7 separate regions of the Homo sapiens genome follow, and regions 2, 3, 4, 5, 6 and 7 are each linked to region 1. The links are contacts of gene promoters, found by promoter capture Hi-C in blood cells and fetal thymus (Javierre and others, 2016). All regions are on one chromosome and are shown on one strand. The core of a region is centred on a gene start or on the middle of the fragment in contact, and the rest is flanking DNA. Distances in the headings are between cores, read along the strand shown. Region 1 holds the start of POLR1F (RNA polymerase I subunit F). Region 2 has its middle 130 kb from the start of ABCB5. Region 3 has its middle 120 kb from the start of ITGB8-AS1. Region 4 has its middle 100 kb from the start of ITGB8-AS1. Region 5 overlaps ITGB8 (integrin subunit beta 8). Region 6 overlaps ITGB8 (integrin subunit beta 8). Region 7 has its middle 9.7 kb from the start of ITGB8.

Evidence for each region. The method cuts DNA at HindIII sites, captures the fragments that hold promoters and counts their contacts. A CHiCAGO score of 5 or more calls a contact.
Region 2: a contact is called between a fragment that was not itself captured here and the fragment with the promoter of POLR1F in region 1, in 1 of 17 cell types (monocytes). The highest score is 5.2, in monocytes.
Region 3: a fragment that was not itself captured here is called in contact with the fragment with the promoter of POLR1F in region 1 in 1 of 17 cell types (monocytes); the score reaches 7.3 in monocytes.
Region 4: a fragment that was not itself captured here is called in contact with the fragment with the promoter of POLR1F in region 1 in 1 of 17 cell types (monocytes); the score reaches 6.4 in monocytes.
Region 5: a fragment that was not itself captured here is called in contact with the fragment with the promoter of POLR1F in region 1 in 1 of 17 cell types (monocytes); the score reaches 5.2 in monocytes.
Region 6: a contact is called between a fragment that was not itself captured here and the fragment with the promoter of POLR1F in region 1, in 1 of 17 cell types (naive B cells). The highest score is 6.7, in naive B cells.
Region 7: a fragment that was not itself captured here is called in contact with the fragment with the promoter of POLR1F in region 1 in 3 of 17 cell types (total B cells, naive B cells and erythroblasts); the score reaches 7.9 in total B cells.

The regions. Positions count from the first base shown.
Region 1 is chr7:19,707,766-19,710,293 of GRCh38, forward strand. It overlaps POLR1F (RNA polymerase I subunit F), which reads right to left and starts at 1,272. Exons shown (of 4, transcript NM_001002926.2): 1 at 998-1,272. The coding sequence starts at 1,251. RefSeq lists enhancers at 396-1,000, 965-1,034, 1,001-1,603, 1,145-1,424. The HindIII fragment of the contact is 8,345 bases long and covers 1-2,528 here.
Region 2 is chr7:20,485,030-20,487,557 of GRCh38, forward strand. No RefSeq gene overlaps it. Among named protein-coding and RNA genes, the nearest start is that of ABCB5, 130 kb to the right of the region's middle. RefSeq lists an enhancer at 2,037-2,528. The HindIII fragment of the contact is 1,361 bases long and covers 588-1,948 here.
Region 3 is chr7:20,453,320-20,455,847 of GRCh38, forward strand. No RefSeq gene overlaps it. Among named protein-coding and RNA genes, the nearest start is that of ITGB8-AS1, 120 kb to the left of the region's middle. The HindIII fragment of the contact is 6,142 bases long and covers 1-2,528 here.
Region 4 is chr7:20,430,931-20,433,458 of GRCh38, forward strand. No RefSeq gene overlaps it. Among named protein-coding and RNA genes, the nearest start is that of ITGB8-AS1, 100 kb to the left of the region's middle. The HindIII fragment of the contact is 605 bases long and covers 961-1,565 here.
Region 5 is chr7:20,389,956-20,392,483 of GRCh38, forward strand. ITGB8 (integrin subunit beta 8) reads left to right here. Exons shown (of 14, transcript NM_002214.3): 7 at 1,448-1,543. Among named protein-coding and RNA genes, the nearest start is that of ITGB8-AS1, 59 kb to the left of the region's middle. The HindIII fragment of the contact is 2,588 bases long and covers 1-2,528 here.
Region 6 is chr7:20,341,468-20,343,995 of GRCh38, forward strand. All of the region lies in intron 1 of ITGB8 (integrin subunit beta 8), which reads left to right. Among named protein-coding and RNA genes, the nearest start is that of ITGB8-AS1, 11 kb to the left of the region's middle. The HindIII fragment of the contact is 3,904 bases long and covers 1-2,528 here.
Region 7 is chr7:20,319,917-20,322,444 of GRCh38, forward strand. No RefSeq gene overlaps it. Among named protein-coding and RNA genes, the nearest start is that of ITGB8, 9.7 kb to the right of the region's middle. The HindIII fragment of the contact is 1,389 bases long and covers 573-1,961 here.

The DNA of each region.
Region 1 (2,528 bases), core at 22-2,521:
TTTATTTTTTGTTTTTGTATCTCAAGTGTTCGGTATGTAATATAAACATACAAGAAGTGTATATTGGTGCTTGGAAGAATCTGCAGATTCTAGACATGGGTGGAGGTCCAGGATCCCTTAAGAAACTGATAAAAACTTCCGATGCAGTGCCCAAGGAACTTCACATAGGAATTCCTGAAGGGCAATCATGAATCCCTAGAGAATCCATTCCCTCTAGTTTTAGAACCCCGCTTTTAAACCAAAGTATAGTCCAGAGGAATACTCAAGCACATGCCCGCGCCCCCCGCCCCACACCTCTGTAATTCTAAGTTTTCAAGTCACTTTTGAATACCGTAATATAAATGCATACGTTTTGGTTTTTTCTCTCCCCAAAGCAACAGGCTCACTAGTTCGACTGAATAAATCTTCTTAAAAACAACAAAATCCCGCTAAACTAATGGCATTTTCATAATCCCCAGATCAGGTCCAAGAGAAGAGAAAATGGGGAAATTACCAGAGCGAAATCCAACAACAAAAAAGGTCCTTCATGTTTTACAAATAGAACGGTTGTACTAATGCTTCGTATGCTATCTTCTATGGAATGAGAATCTACTCAAGCACTGCAAACCAGATTTTTATCGTCAAATGAGAAAGCATCATCCGTAAGGGGATAAATGAAACGTTGAATGCCAAACAGAACTGGGCCTACTAGGTCTCCAGATCCCTGGTCTTTTCCTACCCCTACACCAGGGTTCTGGAGCAAGAATCTCCACTCCCTCCGCCCACACCTGAACTTCATCTTTAAGTTTTCTTCTCTATCTATGAAAGGGACCCTGTATAGATCTTTACCAGAGCGGTACTGGCCTTGAGGGACGGATCGCGACTCTAGAAATCCAGGGGGCTAAGCTCTGGGGGGCAATGCGACCTTTGCCATTTGCCCCTTTCTGCTGCGTCGTCAGCACATCCACCTGCTTTACTTCCCGTGCACAAAAGAAGGAACAGGCAAAGAGATCGGTACCTCTCAGAATAGCGAAGGAGCTCCGCATCAAGCTGTTCTCGAATGCCGGTGCGTTTCCTGTTAAGGTAGCGGGGCGACAGCGCGATGTGCCTTTGGTGCGGCCCGGCCACCAGGCATGAGTAGCGACTGTTCACCAGCGCACAAGCAGCGGCATAAGTCGGCAACTCTAGGCAAGGCAGGACGCCAGCCTGCCCTACCAGAGACCCATCAGAAGCCGCCGCTGGCCGCGGCGCCTCTGAGCAACCTGCAGCCATGCTGCTTGTCAAGGTTCCCACGGCGCGCGCCGTTGACGCAAGCACAATCCCATGTCCCCGGCGCTCGTTTTACGCCATCCACCAACGACCACGCCCCTAGGAATTTCCCCTCTTTTCGCTGCATTACGCAGCCCTGACCAGCAGGGGGAACCGCGTTTTCGCGCTTCGAGAACGGGAGCTTAGAGCCTCGGAAATGCATTGAGCACGCAGGAAAGCCAACCGACTGCTCTTTTAAGGGCAGGCAAATGTGTGTTTTCGCACAGAGGCTTATTGGATTAAGTAGGTAGCTTAAAAATGGGGGTTCTCACTTTGATCATTTCCAGTAGTGAGGTGGGTTTGGTAGAATTTTACAGGCTTGGACTGTACAATAAAAAATCAAAATATTTATGGAGTATATTTTATGCAGTACACGGAATCCTAAGCAGGCCTGATAATTGTAATGCAACGCATCTGAAAACGAACCCACTAGTTCTCTCCTGTCCCGCTTCTCTTCTCATTATGCAACTGCTAAATCAGGGAATCATACAGCCAAGCTGTCAGCCTCGGATCCTCTTTTGTATCCCCAAGTATCAAATCAGCCTGAAGACCTGTATTGCCCAAAGTGGAAATATCATTCTATTTGGACACTATTCTCTTTCCCTGCCGCCAAAACCGCAGGACTCCCTGCCTGTGGAAGCCTAGCTCAATGGTCAGGAGGACACTCTGGGGCAGCCAGATCTTCCCTGAAATACATATGATCGTGTTGTGCCCTGTTTAAGCCCTACATAGGCACCCCATTTTCTCTAGGACAACACAAACTCATGAAAATGGCTTATAAGTTACAAGGCCATTTTGTGATCTGCGTGGGCACACAGCCTCTCTCTTCAGCTTCATTTGTCACACTCCCCACCCTAATATTATCATGCTGCTTGATCTACTTTCAGGTCTCTCTTTGTGCAGTCTCACGCTGTTCCTTCCACCAGGGAATATAATAGCATTTTTCACAAGGGTAAATTCTACTCATGTATGAATTTCTAGCTTAGATTTTACATTCTATACCTTTGCAAAGAGTTTTCAAGCACCCCACTCCTCTTTCTCTATAAGGATTAGGTAGTTACCCATCTATGTTGGTTTTTATGTTAATTTTTTATTAACTGTCTTTGCTTGCCTGTTCCATCAATAGATTCCTACACTCACTAAAGTGGGGACCATAATATCTGTATTGTTCACTACAGTAGCCCCCCACAATTTATCCCTCCTCCAAAGAAACGAAACCAAGAAAAACCCAACCAATACAT
Region 2 (2,528 bases), core at 18-2,517, 780 kb after region 1:
AGATAGCAAGGAAATTTGCCTGTCTCAAGCCTTGTCATAGAGGAAGATGAGGTGGGGATGGAGAGAAAAGGGAGAATTCATAACCACAAAATTGCCCTCATAGAGATTTACAGTCTGAATTTACAGCACCTCTATTGTCTGTCAAATCTCTGGTAGAGAATAAAATTTAAAGAATTGGATTTAAATGCCAAGATGACTTTCAGACACAAATAAAAATCTAGGATAGAAATTAGTAAACAGATTCAAACAAATTGTCCAAAATGTAGCCCAGAAAAAATAAAAAACCTATGAAATTAAAAATAGGTTAAGATAACACATCTAGTCAGGGCTCCAAAAGAAATAATAAAGGAAATTGAGATGAAGCAAAATTAGAATAGATAAAGGGTAAGAATTTCTCAGAAATGTTGAAATACACTAGTCATGAGAATGAAAAATGGCAACTATAAATTCAAAATCCAAATGCAATTCCCAAAATCAATAAATTTAACCAAACAAATATAAAATTTCTGTATGGGTTAAAAAAACTCATAATTAAAATGAAAAAACAACAATAAACTAGTAAGAAAAGAGTTAAGGAGAAACAGAAAAGCTTAGGCAAATAGGAAACACATAATAAAATAATAGAACCAATAACATATATTAGTGATCATTATACATTTAAAATAATTCTTCATTTAAAATAAATTTTGTAATATTAAATTCAATATTTTTAAAAACCTGTTAAGTTTTGTTTGTAAGAGTCCCATTATCATAAAGAAATGAAAGAAAATGTGGAAAGAGTGAAAAAGATATATCAGATAAATACTAAACTGAAGAATGCTGGAATACCTATATTAAAACCGGACAAAATAAACATAAAGGCAAAAAAATATTAAAGATAAAGATGGTCGGCCGGGCGTGGTAGCTCACGCCTGTAATCCCAGCACTTTGGGAGGACAAGGCAGGTGGATTACAAGGTCAGGAGATTGAGACCATCCTGGCTAACATGGTGAAACCCCGTCTCTACTAAAAATACAAAAAAATTAGCCAGGCGTGGTGGCAGGTGCCTGTAGTCCCAGCTACTCGGGAGGCTGAGGCAGGAGAACGGCATGAATGCGAGAGGTGGAGCTGGCAGTGAGCCGAGATCGTGCCACTGCACCCCAGCCTGGGCAGCAGGGGGAGACTCTGTCCCAAAAAGGAAAAGAAAAGATAAAAATGGTCACTAAAAAACTAAAAATTGAATTTGAAAAAGAAAAATTGCAATTTTTAATGTTTATATACATAGTAACAAACTTTAAAATGAAGGGCAGAGGGTGGAATTCCATATGACTGATTAACCACAAAGAAGGACCAAAATGGTAAGTAGATAACCATACATCAAATAGAGCTTCTAAGAGAGAACACTGGAATTCAGCAGGAAAGTGACAGGGAACAACTGAGGCATAGAAAGAGAGGAAAGCGAAACAGCCAGCCTGGCTGGGATTGGTTCAAAGCTAGGAGAAACTCTCTATTGTAGGGAAAAGACAACTAAGATATCCCCAGTTGTTCATATTCTCACTATGGACCCCTGCAATCCTAGCCACAAGAGAGTTTCTTTGCCCTTATGGACTCTGATACTAGTACAGGAGATGTCTGGAGTCTACATAGTGACATTATTCCAGAGAAGGGGTTTGTGCTGAGTCCCACCCACCCCCTGAGACCCAAGCAGCTGCAGCACAGGGCCCTTTTGAGAGCCCAGTCCCCACCAGCTATATCCGCCTCTGGAGCCCAACAGCCCCTGAATCTCCACATTCCTGAAGCTCCACTTCCATCCCCCAACATCCATTCAGAGCACTGTAGCATTGCACCACCAGATGCACCCAGCAATGTGGCTGCGTCTCAAGGACTCTAACCAAGGCAGTGTCCTATACCCTGGGGAACAGGCAGTGCAGCACACTAGGAAAGCTGCCCCCAGGACAAAAGAAGCCAAAGCTTACTCTGCTTGCAGCCTAAGAACTAACTGCCTAAGGAGATTACCGCTGACAACAACCTCACTTCCTCCAGCCTCCTGTATGTACCTTCAGAGGGCCTGGGACTGGCCTGCTCAGGCACTGGGCCTAAGAACAAGCCTGTGTCACTCAGTGCCACTGGTGCCCACATGCATGGTCTGGGGTCCCAAGGATTGATCCACTCAACCTGCTCTGGCTGGCCTGTGCATTCCACCAGGGGGCCTAATGACAGGTCCACCCCACCCACCACTGCCATTGTTGAACATGTGTGCCATCCAGGGATCTGAGGAAAGGCCAGCCCCACCCATTTCCACTGCCACAAGTACCTGTGTGCACTATCAGGGGGCCTGAGAACTGAACCACCAAGCCAACCATCGCCACTGCTAGCACCCCCTACATGCCACTCAGGGGCCTGAGGATTGGACCGCCATTACTATTGCCACCACTGATGTCAACAGGGGCCCAAGAACCCACCCGTTCACCCACTCAGTCCAGCCACCATTGCCACCCAAGCAAGTCACCCGGAGGCCAAAAGGACCTGCCTGCCTAGACCCTTAATCA
Region 3 (2,528 bases), core at 11-2,510, 750 kb after region 1:
AAGTGTGTGCTATGAGATGTTAGCATATATTTCCTTTGTTTATAAGCCAAATAGGATTAGGCTTCCAGAATTTTTGGAAAGAAAATTAAATCAACGGAATTCTATTTAACTGATTGGTGTATTGTTTATTGACACTGTCTCTTCTGTTCCCTGCCTTATCTCAGTTTGCTTTAATGCTTCAGTGCCTCAACAGTTCAGTTGGAGTAAGTGCCCAGCAAATGTATAAAGCCAATTAATGCAACCCAGTTACCATTCAAATTTGCCAAGACAAAAGAAGTGTAACCTTCTTTAAGTTCTTTGGCTTCATTAAACTTCTATTTATTTAATACTTCCATTAACAGGCAATTAATTCAAATCAAACGAGTTTGGAATGAGGATAAAAGCAGAACAGCAGCAGTGAAAGGTGAGACACAAGGGCCAAACTGTGGTGCAGAAGCTGAGGAAACTCAGGTGAGGTTAGGAGAGTCTAAATTCCTCCAAAGAGGAATACACTTTCTTTCCTAAAGTGTTTTTCTTGTTTGTTTGTTTGTTTTTTTTTGAGACGTAGTCTTGCTCTGTCGCCCAGGCTGGAGTGCAGTGGTGCCATCTCGGCTCACTGCAAGCTCTGCCTCCCGGGTTCACACCATTCTCCTGCCTCAGCCTCCCAAGTACCTGGGACTACAGGCGCCCACCACCACATCCAGCTAATTTTTTTGTATTTTTAGTAGAGACGGAGTTTCACCAGGTTAGCCAGGATGGTCTCGATCTCCTGACTTCGTGATCCACCTGCCTTGGCTTCCCAAAGTGCTGGGATTACAGGCGTGAGACACCGCACCCGGCCTCTTTCCTAAAGTCTTAAGACCATCACTAGTTGAGGAAGAGGACTGACAGCGAGTGTGATGAGTTGAGAAAGCAGTCTCTATGGGCCCCGCAGTTAGGAGAGTGAAGGCAAGAAAAGGATGTTCCTGGCAACGAATCAGTCACGTCTCTTTGTGAAGCAGGCCCTAGGGATCACCCTCCCCGGAGTAGGTCCTGACAAACTATGGAGATGGGCCAAGGAACAGGAGCAGCAATAGGCTTAGAAATGGTCTCTGGAGACCACTTAAAGTCTAAAATTTTGATGGATTGAAATGCTATCATTCTGGTAGTTAAAAGAAAATTGTCATCATAAACACTAATTTGCAAATAGCAGGCACACATACCAAGACATGTACTCATTTTTGTTCCAATATAAATGAAGAACTCTTTACTGGGCAATTATATATGAGGGAAAAGTCTTTAGCCTTGAGAAGTAACAGCTCACTCAACAGTAAGATCAAAGAGTGGCATGATGTCTTCAGCACACTATTTTAATGTTTAGCCAGGAAAAAACAAATATTCTACTAATCCTTGGTTTAGTTTCAATGTGTGACTTTCAATCTGGCTTTTGAATATAATCACTCAGTTCTATCATTATAGATATAATTAAAATGATGGAGAAATTATAGATTATGATACAAAACAGAATATGACTTTGCCCTTATGTCTCAGGCACTTTATATAGGGTATCTCATTTGACTTTCACAACAAATCAGAAAAATTGAGTAAATTACTCATTGTCCAAGTTGATACAGCTTACTGGAAAAGAAGCAAAGATTTGATTTTAAGATAGTCTGGCTTCATGTTCTATCCATTCAACCATACTGCCTTCCTTCATTTCTTGACGTAAGAAGGTGAAGGATTGACACTTCAACTGGAAGAGACACAAACCATGGATTATCTTTCCAACTGAGGCATAAATGCATTTTCATAATACAAAGACATTAGGAAAATCTTTAAAGGAAGTGAGAAAAGGCCCTATCCACTGGAAAACTTTCTTGATCTTCCAAATATTTCCAAAATACTGGGGATTCCACATCCAGTCAGTAGGAACCAAATACCAAAGAACTGATTTTCCACATGGCAGGGGATTCCTCAGTCACCACCTTTATTTTCCCCTTCTCAGCACCAAGAAATATTACACCACAGAAATGTATATATGGAATATTTAAGATATAAAATGTGTATTAAAAAACAACAAATAGTCAGGGACTCACCTCCCAACTTAAGAAATACCACCTTGCAAAAATTTTGGAAGTCTCTGAGAACTGATCTTTGATCACAGCCCACTCACTCTCTCACAGAATAACTATTACTATAAATTTCATGCCTATTTCCATATATTTTTATACTTTTACTCCATCTGTATACATTCTTAAACAACATATACCATAGTTTTTTCATGTTTCCAAAACTAAATGTAAATGGGTTCATATAGTATAAATTCTTATGCAACCTATTTTTTTTTAATTAAGTTCTGGGATATATGTGCAGAACGTGCAGGTTTGTTACATAGGTATGCACGTGCCATGGTGGTTTGCTGCACTAATCAACCCGTCATCTACATTAGGTATTCCTACTAATGCTATCCCTCCCCTAGTCCCCACCCCACGACAGGCCCCGGTGTGTGACATTCCCCTCTGTGTCCCTGTGTTCTCATTGTTCAACTTCCACTTATGAGTGAGAACATG
Region 4 (2,528 bases), core at 13-2,512, 720 kb after region 1:
TGTCTTAGTGTGGCAGACATACTACAGAGGAACTGCCTGGTAAAATAGAAATTACCAAATATATTGGATTAGCACTTACCCACCCCCTCGGATCAGAATCTTAAGACACAACAGTAAAACTTTGGTGATTTCCATGATCCAAGATGAAAAACAAAGAAGAAAGTCTTATACTGTAAGTAATAGTGGGGATTTTTCTCTCTTATATTAGAACTTAGCTAAAGTTCAGCTGGAATTTACAGGGCTGAATGGTCAGAATCAAATGTATGGCTTGAACAGAAAACACAAATGAGTTGTCATAGGAATGACAGGCTAGGACACTTGATGAATTCCAGTTTTATGTCTTACTCACAATCAAAATACTGTGTCCAAATTGTACCTTGAACAATTTCGGAGTCATCTGCCTGGGAAAGTCTGTATTCCCCTTTCTTCAATACTTGGACACTCTGATTTTTGGTACGTTTTTCTAGTTAAGCCTTGTGGATGCAAAGTAAATAATTTATTAGTTCTAGGGAAATATGTAATGGTACAGGAATGAACAGCATAACACAGCTTATGAAAGGACTGTTTTTAAAGTATACAGCTATGTAGAGAGTATTCTTCAGTGCCTGGCTATAAATCATCCATGAAAACCAATAGAGACCCAGTCCAGAATGTTAGAACTGAGAGGGAATATAGGAAGGACCCAGAGGGAAGAGGAATACCTTGCCCATTCCCTGTCAGCTCCCAGAGGGCAATCCACATTGTGGAACTAATTTCCACAAACACACAGAAGTCCACCCTCTGCACATCCCCAAGCTCTTCTTCTCTGTTCATACCCTCCTCCTTGTAAGGGGTGTCTGCTGTGTTATTTAACAATATTCAATTCTTTTGTAAAAGACAAGAAAAGCAAATAGAGTTGATACAACTCTTAAGAAATACTCAATATAAATGTAAGTATAAAAGGAGCTTGTGAGACACAGAAGCTTATAGTAGGTATTAAGCATAGATAGCAAGTTAATGACCTGTGAACTATGTCAGACATAGGGAAAGAAAGAAGCACATCAGTGTGTTAAACAAAGGTGAGGATGGAAAGCCCAAAGGCAGCAAAAATTCATGGTCTGTTAAATGTTGATGAGTTAAGAGAGAGGCCAAATATAATATTCATGGGACACTGAATAGGCACGAGAGTTTAAATTGCCTCAACTCACTGGTGACACCCATTCTGGCCAGGTATCCTCTGCCTGAGATGTGCAGATAGAATCCACAGCTGCTCAGTAAGTTAATGTGGAAGCTACTGCTGAGACCAAGCCGATTTGCCCCTGTGTGTCTTCTACAGTGCAAGTGTTGACTCCAGGCACTGTCCATCTGCTGAGTCCCTTGCTCACAATCAAACCTGGTCCTTGTAATCATGCAGACAATGGAGAGAGCTGATAAGGTGGAAAGAGAGATAGGACCTAGAAACATTGCGTGATGCAGAATTCACATAGCATGGTTCTTTTAACCCTCTACCCTCTCCGGTGTCTTCACCTACACCATATCTTTTTTCTTGCATCTCACTCTGTTTTACGTTGATTCAATTAACCACAAGCTTTTACAGTTTCAGTTTAGTCTCTGAATCTTTCTATTCTGTGACCTCTGGGATAGTTTTCCTGGTTGTACACTGGAAGATTACCATTGCATCAAGGTCATTCCCTTAAAACATCCTGCTTCTCCATCTCCACTGTGGACTCTCAGCCTTGCTGTTCTGCCTGGAGAAGAACCGCCACACGTAAGTAAGGATCCCAGCAGGCTCCAGATACTACTGTTGAGCTCCTCACACTTAGAACCTCTTAGTGTCATCTAAGTCTAAACTACGAAGTGCCTCCCCATACCTGAGACTTTTTAACTGAGTAGGCTAATTTTCTTTTCTTTTCTTTTTTTGAGATGAAGTCTCACTCTGTTGCACAGGCTGGAGTGCAGTGGCACAATCTTGGCTCACTGCAACCTCTGCCTCCCATGTTCAAGTGATCCTCCTGCCTCAGCCTCCCAAGTAGCTAGAACTACTGGTGCCCACCACCACACCAGGCTAATTTTTGTATTTTTACTAGTGGCAGGGTTTCACCATGTTGGCCAGGCTGGTCTCGAACTCTTGACCTCAAGTGATCCACCAGCCTCGGCCTCCCAAAGTGCTGGGATTACAGGTGTCAGCCACAGTGCCCAGCACGAGTAGGTGAATTTTCTACATATAATTTCCTATTCTTTTACTGTCTTTAGGTTGCTGGTTTTCCATTTTATTATTTTGTTTTAGTTTTCTTATTTACTTATTTTTTGCTTATCATTACCAAACCCTAACTATTAATGGAATTCAATTGGTTATTAGCTCTCTAATAAAGGAATATGACAAAGAGAACAAAATTTTTTGCATTATAATTTAATCAGTGTCACTTGACTGTGAACATGTAGTTTATCAGAAGGAAACACGTACCCAACAAGGGGAAGCTGTGAAAGGCAAAGGATTCTTACATATTTAATATCTTTAAGTGTTTTCTTCTGTTGGGAAAAAAGAATGG
Region 5 (2,528 bases), core at 19-2,518, 680 kb after region 1:
CATGTGTAAAGGCAACTCATGAAAATTTGATTTGTTTCTATCACAACAATTATAGATGACAGAGAAATAAAGTGTTATTTGTTACTTAGAACTTACGTTATAAGTGAAACTAGTTAGTCTAGCCCTTTTACCAAGTTCACATAGTTGTCACAATACAGAAATGTTTACCAAGTTGGTTTAACAGGATTTTTCCTTAAAGAAAATACAGTTAACATTGGAGAGTGCAGTGGGAAGCAAAAACTATGGAGTAATTTGAACTTAAATGTTATGATACTAATTGGGCTCAGTTACATACTAATCTTTGGCTTATGCCATTAGGCACCAGTGAATGAGGAGAGACTACTGCCAGTGAACTTTAACATCATCTCTCTGATAAGTATCTAGCTATGAACTTGTTATTCGAGACAATCATTTTAATTTCTAGAAGAGTATTTATAGAAAAAATATTACCAATAATATACCTAACTATATAACTCTAGATAGTCATTTATGTAATCATCAGATTTCTCATGTTCTCTAAACTAAATTTTATTTCAATTTTCCTACTCTTCTCTAACTTTCTCATTACCACAAAGAGTGCCACAGTTGGCACAACATAAATTTTATTTATCAAAGTAAAGCAGGTATAAAATATATCATACAACAAAAATATTGAGCATAATGATAAGTTGAGAAATCTGTAATCTATACCTTGTATAAGCAGTTGAAATAAGAATCAGAATTGCTATTAGTTTTGATCACTTACTGCATGCAAGAAAATGCACTAAATAGTTCACATACTATTATTATCTTTTTAATCTTGCCAGCAATCATGGAAGGCAGGTATCATTCACATATTACAGAAGATGGAATTGAGAACTTTTGTTGTAAGGTGACAAACCTAGGACTTGAGTAGAGCATTTCCTGCTTCTAAAGAGCGTTACTATATCATGTTATATATATATGTTATATAACTATATCATGTTATATATCAAATGTGTATATATAGTATATGTGGATGTTTGAATGTGTATGTGTATATATATGTTTATAGGCATATACATATACATGCATACATATTTGCAGTTCAATACTTGTTACTGAATTTCACCTTAGAATGTGATTGCCACTAACGTGTCTCTATTTCTGAATATTAAATTATCTGTCAGTTACACCATTTGGAGTCCAGTGTTAATCTAAAGAGGTGCTGTTCACTCTTTGTTAGTTAGTTGAATTCAGCTCTCTTCATCTTTTTAAGTTACAGGTTTTTATGGGACTTTTGTCTATAAAATATTTTAATACATGGATATTGATGTTATGTTTTCAAAAATTTAAATGTCTTCAGTAAAACCATAGTCCTTCCCAGGTACATTTTTATGTAAGTCATACAGTTTTCTTCATATTAGATGTTTGAATAGGATGGAGCTATGAAATTTCATTCCCTTATTTATTTTATTATTCATTACAGGAACACCCCTCACTAGGCCAACTTTCAGAGAAATTAATAGACAACAACATTAATGTCATCTTTGCAGTTCAAGGAAAACAATTTCATTGGTATAAGGTATGTTAACTCTGAAAATGTTAAAATTAAATTTTTTTCATTGGTAATTGAAATTAAGACATTTCTTTAGAACCACAGATAAGGATTCTGGAATTATTATACTTTGTACAATCTAAATTCTATATTGTATTACTAAAGTATCCTTTACAATGTCTTAACTTAGCATTTAAGCATAAATTCTATTTAGGTTTGTAACATCTAGAACCAAATCTGAGAACTGAGAATTGTATTGGATACACTTGAGTCCAGCCTGATGCTTAGGGTGGTCTCAAATGTGACAATGGTGGAGAAGACTTATCAGGCAAAAAGTAGTTCACAATCCGTCTTTGCATCTTGCATGTCTAGAGTGCTTCTTCTTATTCTGGTACATGAGCATATCCTCATAATAGGTTAAAATTAGAGAATATCAGCTTAATTCTAAATAGCACTGACACACCTAGCTTTGGTCTAGGTCATTCAATAACGGACCAAAAGGGGCCATCGAAGTGTCTGAGCCAGTCAAAGCCTTCACACATAAGAATAATCTTGGTGGTGTCTGGAGTCTTTTGGGCCAGGTGAGACCCTCAAGCAAAATAGACAGCAACTGTGTCACACTGGAGGTGCCATGGACCCCCCAGCATAGAACTGTTCCTCTGCAACCCTGTTATAGCTTTCTTTTCACAATCTTTAAGGCTCTTTCTTCCTAGAAACTCTCTTGTTCTCATTTTCATGAAGCTATGACACCCTAATTTTCATTGTGCATCTCTGTTTACTTGGTCTCCCTCATCTCCTTTGCTATCTTTGTTTCTCCCATCTGCTCCCTAATTATACATTTCCCCTCAGTGGCCAGTCCCCAGTGCCCTCTACTTATTTTTAAAAACTGCAGAGAAATTACATTTTCTTGGCTTCAATAAATACTTGAACCCATTTCCATTTGCCACAAGCTGGTGTTCCCCCTACCAGTTTCCCTATTACCTACCTACCTTATCTGAAAGCACTACTTTAA
Region 6 (2,528 bases), core at 12-2,511, 630 kb after region 1:
ACGTCAGGTTGATACTGAAAATATGAGAACTAAATGGCATTACTACCAGTCTTTAGTTTAGAAGATATAGCATGTTTGATGCCTTGTAAAGAAGGTATCCAAGGCCACATGATACTTTGTAACATCTGATGGGACTGTGGTCACATGGGAGAAGGGAAGGGGGCTCTTGAGCACGTGCCTGTGGCCCACTGAAGACAGCATAGCCAGCTGGAGATTGGGCCCACCCACCCTTTTAGGGCTGTCCGGGGCTGACAGTTGGCTACTTGGGGGTCAGCATAGCACTGATGCCAGAACTCACTTGCCTGAGGTTGGATTATCTGGTTATAGACTTGTCTGGGCAGAGATTGACTTTTGGGCATTATGAAAAGTCAGACATCAGGGCTTTTTGGACAAATTCTGCCTCTTAGGTATATGTTTGAGTTAAAAAAAAAAAAAAAGATGTGTTACTTCTGACTGCTTTCTACTGGTGGGGTAGAAAAGTTGGGTCAGCCAGAACGATCATTGGATGTTACACTCCTCCTTCTCACAGGGCAAACTTCTCAGATACTGCCCAGGTGGTATGTGATATTTTCTCCTATACTGCGTAATTATCAATTCCTTTGGGATTAATCTTAATGAAAAAAAGCCCACATGCAGAACCAGAGTATTCTTGGCCCTTTGAACAAACTAGATGCTTCTAGCATGATATGAAAGAACATCAAGCTCCAGAGGACGTAAGAATTGGCCTCCAAGTTGTATAATATAAAGCTGCCCTAGTGACAGAGGACCCACTAACTGGTCAGTCCACTTGAGGATCTTTGTTAGGGCTCTGTATTGACAATCTAGGAACTAAATACCCTGAAAGTCCCAAGAAATATAGAATTACCTCAACGTTTTGGAGCTTACCTCTCCAGCCTAAGTGGCACTTTTACACATGAATTTCCTAAGGAGGAATTTGGATTCCCAAAAACATTATCCTTAAAAGTGCAAACTCACCTTTCTAGGCCTCTAAGGATGCTGTACAGTAAGTGGCCCAGGATGGTCTAAATGAGTTGGTTACACAAGACCAGGTTGTTGGATGTTGCCTAGATATACAGTAAACTCTTCCATCCAAAAGATCTCAAGAGGTGCCACATAAACACTGGGAGACTGGCTGGAAATTACAGAATCTGAGAGGGTTTTGCCAGTAACTTCTATACCCATGGCACATTTGGCAAAAGATTTTTCATTCATTTTTTTTTTTTTGGAATTATTGGTGTGCAAAAGTGAAAGGTGGTGGGAATCTGGGCACTTTAGGTTGTTCAAGACCAAAGGAATCAATGGTCACAGATATTCACACTGCATTTGAGAGCACAGAAACCTAGAAACACAAAGTTTGGAGTTTGGTTGTCATTTGTTCGCAAGTACGGCAGAGCCTTCCAGGCCAGAAGAAACAGATTAACTTAGCTGTCTCTGCATAATCAATGGATATGCAGTGTGGGTCTGACAAGGTGAAGAGACATCCTATTGCCTCAGTCATGGTGAGGGTGTAATTCCTGTTTTTCCCATTCAAATATAAATTGGTTGTATATTTTGAAAGGCAGCTTGCAGATCTTCAGTAGACACGGCAGAGTTGAACCTGAAAGGGGTTAAATGTTAGAAGACAAAAGAGATCTGAGGTCCCAGGAAAAGCTAAGTAGGAAACAGAGGGGCTCAGATTTCAAAGTTTAGAAATGGGATGTTGGATATTGGCAGACAATTTCATGTCTCTGAACAGCTTTGCTGCCGTTTGGCCAGTTTTTATTGATCCGGCTGCCTGGGCTGACTCTCAGTAGTAACCTAACAATACTGTGTGGTTTTTAACAGATAATGTATATTTGGGAACCAGACAGAATAAAGATGCAATCATGTAATAAAATGGCCCAGGAAATTCCTTAAGGAAGTTTTCTCTGGCCCTCCCACTCCCCCTTGAGGTGACATCGTCCTGTTATCTGCTGCCTGCTGTACCCTGCCTGTTCCATTTCATAGCACTCTTGTTAAGTTCTGTCTTATGTCAGGTTTTGCTGTTATTCTACAACAGGAATACAAGCAGGTGCCCTATCCCTAAAACCCTGCACAATGCCATGGCTTAATTGCAAGTATTAAGTAATTACAAAAAAAAATTCAGGATGGAGAAGCCATCAAAATTATTACAATCTCAAAATTCCTTAAGAAGCGGAGTTTTCTGCTCTCCACTCCCAGATGATAATGTCCTGTCTCTTTTGACTAAATATTCACCCATTCTCTTCCTCTAATCAAGTAGCTTTTGATAATACTAACAGAGCTACCTATGAGCAGGTAAAAAATAGTTATAGGAGAATCCTGGTCACCTAGAGTGCCTATGAAAAGTGATGTTTTAATTAATTAAATTCTATGGCCATTTATATTCTGACTCTTGCTTTTGAACATCTTTTTAATATGTGTGTGTACACTTTCCTTGCTTGGTGAGTACATCATTTAAACTTTCTTTGGTATTTGAAAAAGGCCTTGCAGTTATCCTTTGATCACATTTGCAAATTTTCACCATTACT
Region 7 (2,528 bases), core at 17-2,516, 610 kb after region 1:
ATAGAATGCGTTAAAGGACTACTTTACCTCTAGCTTCCATTGAGTTTGGCCCATCTGGGAGCACTGGCAGGAGTTTGGAGGGTGGAGAGAAATGCAAGTCAGGGCATTTATTTGCCCCACTTTCCCCCTGCTGGTCCATTGATTTAATCCCTTCTTCCTATTTGGAGTTCCTCCTTACACAGCCCCCCATCCCCCATGTGTGAGTGTATGTGTGTGTCCCTTGAAATATTGTCTTTTACTGTTCCTCCAAGCCAGGGATGTTAAGGTTCTCCACTATTACAAGTCCCAGAGGAATATACCACCGGTTGTTCCTTTTCTTAAAACCTTCCCTACAGTCCTCAACTACTCAGTTTGTCTGCTTTCTGTTTCCTGCTGGAAGGCTAACTTAAAAAGCCATTTCAAAGTACACAATCCATCCCCAGCATTGGGATCTTAACTGGACAAAGCGTCTCATCAAGTCCTTTAATTCTTATTTCTTTGGGTCTTTTGGCTGGCCCTATCTTCTTCTAACTCCAGACTAGCAACTGTCCTCCCAACCACACCCACCCTTTCTTTCTTACTCGTTGTCAGAAAGCTTTTCCTGAGGGTTACATTCCCCAGGGTTTAAAATATAATTAAAAAGTGCTTTCGTGGTTTTCTGGTTGGAGGATGAATTTGTACAATCTCTTGGAAAAGCAAAGCTATTTGGCAGTAAGTGTTAGGAGCCTTCAGAATGTATCTAACCTTTGACCCAGTAATTTTACCTTGGGAACTTTTCCTAAGAAAAGAATCCTAAATATTAAAAAATTTGGATAAAGATGCATGCAAATATGTTTATTAATAAAATGGCCAAAAACTATAAACAGAACACACTCCAACATTGAGGTATGTCAAGTGTCTTCTGTTTGCCCCACCAGCTTCTCTCTCCAATTGCCCTCCGCTATAAGAGACCAGCCTTCCTAAGACTCTGACTGTGGCTCCACTACCTTCTGGCTTTGGTATGAACTTTACTAATGGTACGTCTTGATAAAATTGAAGATGAGAAGAAGAATGAAGTAGGAGTAGTTATTTTCCCTGTCCCCTTTCCGCAGATAGCCTCAGGCTGGCCACCATTCTTGAACAAAGGTAAAACGGTAAAACAGCCTTTCACGTGGCCCTCTTCACATAACTCAATCTCCCTAAGGTTCAGTAATATATGCTTCTCTCGTCTTTTGAAGCCTAAGGATAGTGATGCATTCTGTTCTGCGCCCTGCCCCCATGCACACTGTTTCTAACTCAGGGATACTGTGCTATCACTAACACCCTATCCCACGGTTATCAGAAAATTCTCCTCAAATTGCCCAATTTGAGTACACTAAATATATTTCACTGCCAAGAATCTGGTGCAATCACACAGCATATTTAAGTATACTAGGCGCCACAGCCACTATGGAATAATATGTAACATAGAAAGATAATCACAAAAAGTACAACAAAAAAAGATAAATCTAGTATGAACACAGGTACATAAAAATAAAGCAAATAAGATTCATCACGAAAATGTAATGTTTTCTATAATAAAAACATATTACTTTTTTAATGAGAAAATGTTTAATGACTTAAAAGGAAAGACATTGTAAATCATGCCCAGAGGAATTTGAAAAGACCTTGCAGAAGTGGCAATAGAAATGATGCTTGACAATCAAGTAGGACAAATGAGGAAAAAAAAAAAGTGGAGGAAAAAACATGTCTGGCCAAGAATGAAGCCTATGAAAAGGTAAGTGAAAGTGCTTATAGAAAACCAGGATTCTCTTCTGAAGAGCCTAGGGTAAACACAGTTGAGAAAGGGCAGAGGATTTCATAGAAAAGGGTACTGGGAATGTGATTTGGGGCCAGAATGTCCAAGGTTTCATAGCTGATGCTAAAGGTCTCTTCATGGCCTAGGAGAAAGGTTGGAGAGTGGCATTAAACGAACCATAGAAGGGTTTAAGAAGAGGACAAAAAGCTTAGATTTCTGTCTCCAAAGGAAAACTCTCCTACTACTGTGGAGAAAGGAGGGCTAAGAGTTCCCGAAAAAAAAAAAAAAAAAAAAAAAAAAAAAAGCCTGAACTATGAAGTTTTACTAAGGAGTAAAGAGGGTAAAGGGAATAGAAAAGATTTCAGATGCTTCACTAAGACACGATTAATATAATTTGTAAACTAATGAAAGACAGGGGTTGTCTAGCATACATCTGTAAAAGGGAACAATGATACCTGTGGTACACTTAAAATCTTGATAGACTTCCCTGCTACTTTAGGTTGAAAAGGGTTCGAATGGCCAAAAATATTGTTTTCATTTTATGTTGCAATTGTATATCATGCTGAAAAGCAGATCTTTATAAATAAATTTCTTATATTTCTGAACCTTCAGAGGACTAAATTCCCAGATATGGGAATTGTATTTCAAATATTTTAAAGATTTTATTACATAATGCCAACTGATTACAAAAAAAGTTAGGGCCAATTTACAATTTCACTATAAATGAGTTCCTATTTTAACCTAGCTACCACTAAATACTGTCATTTTTTTA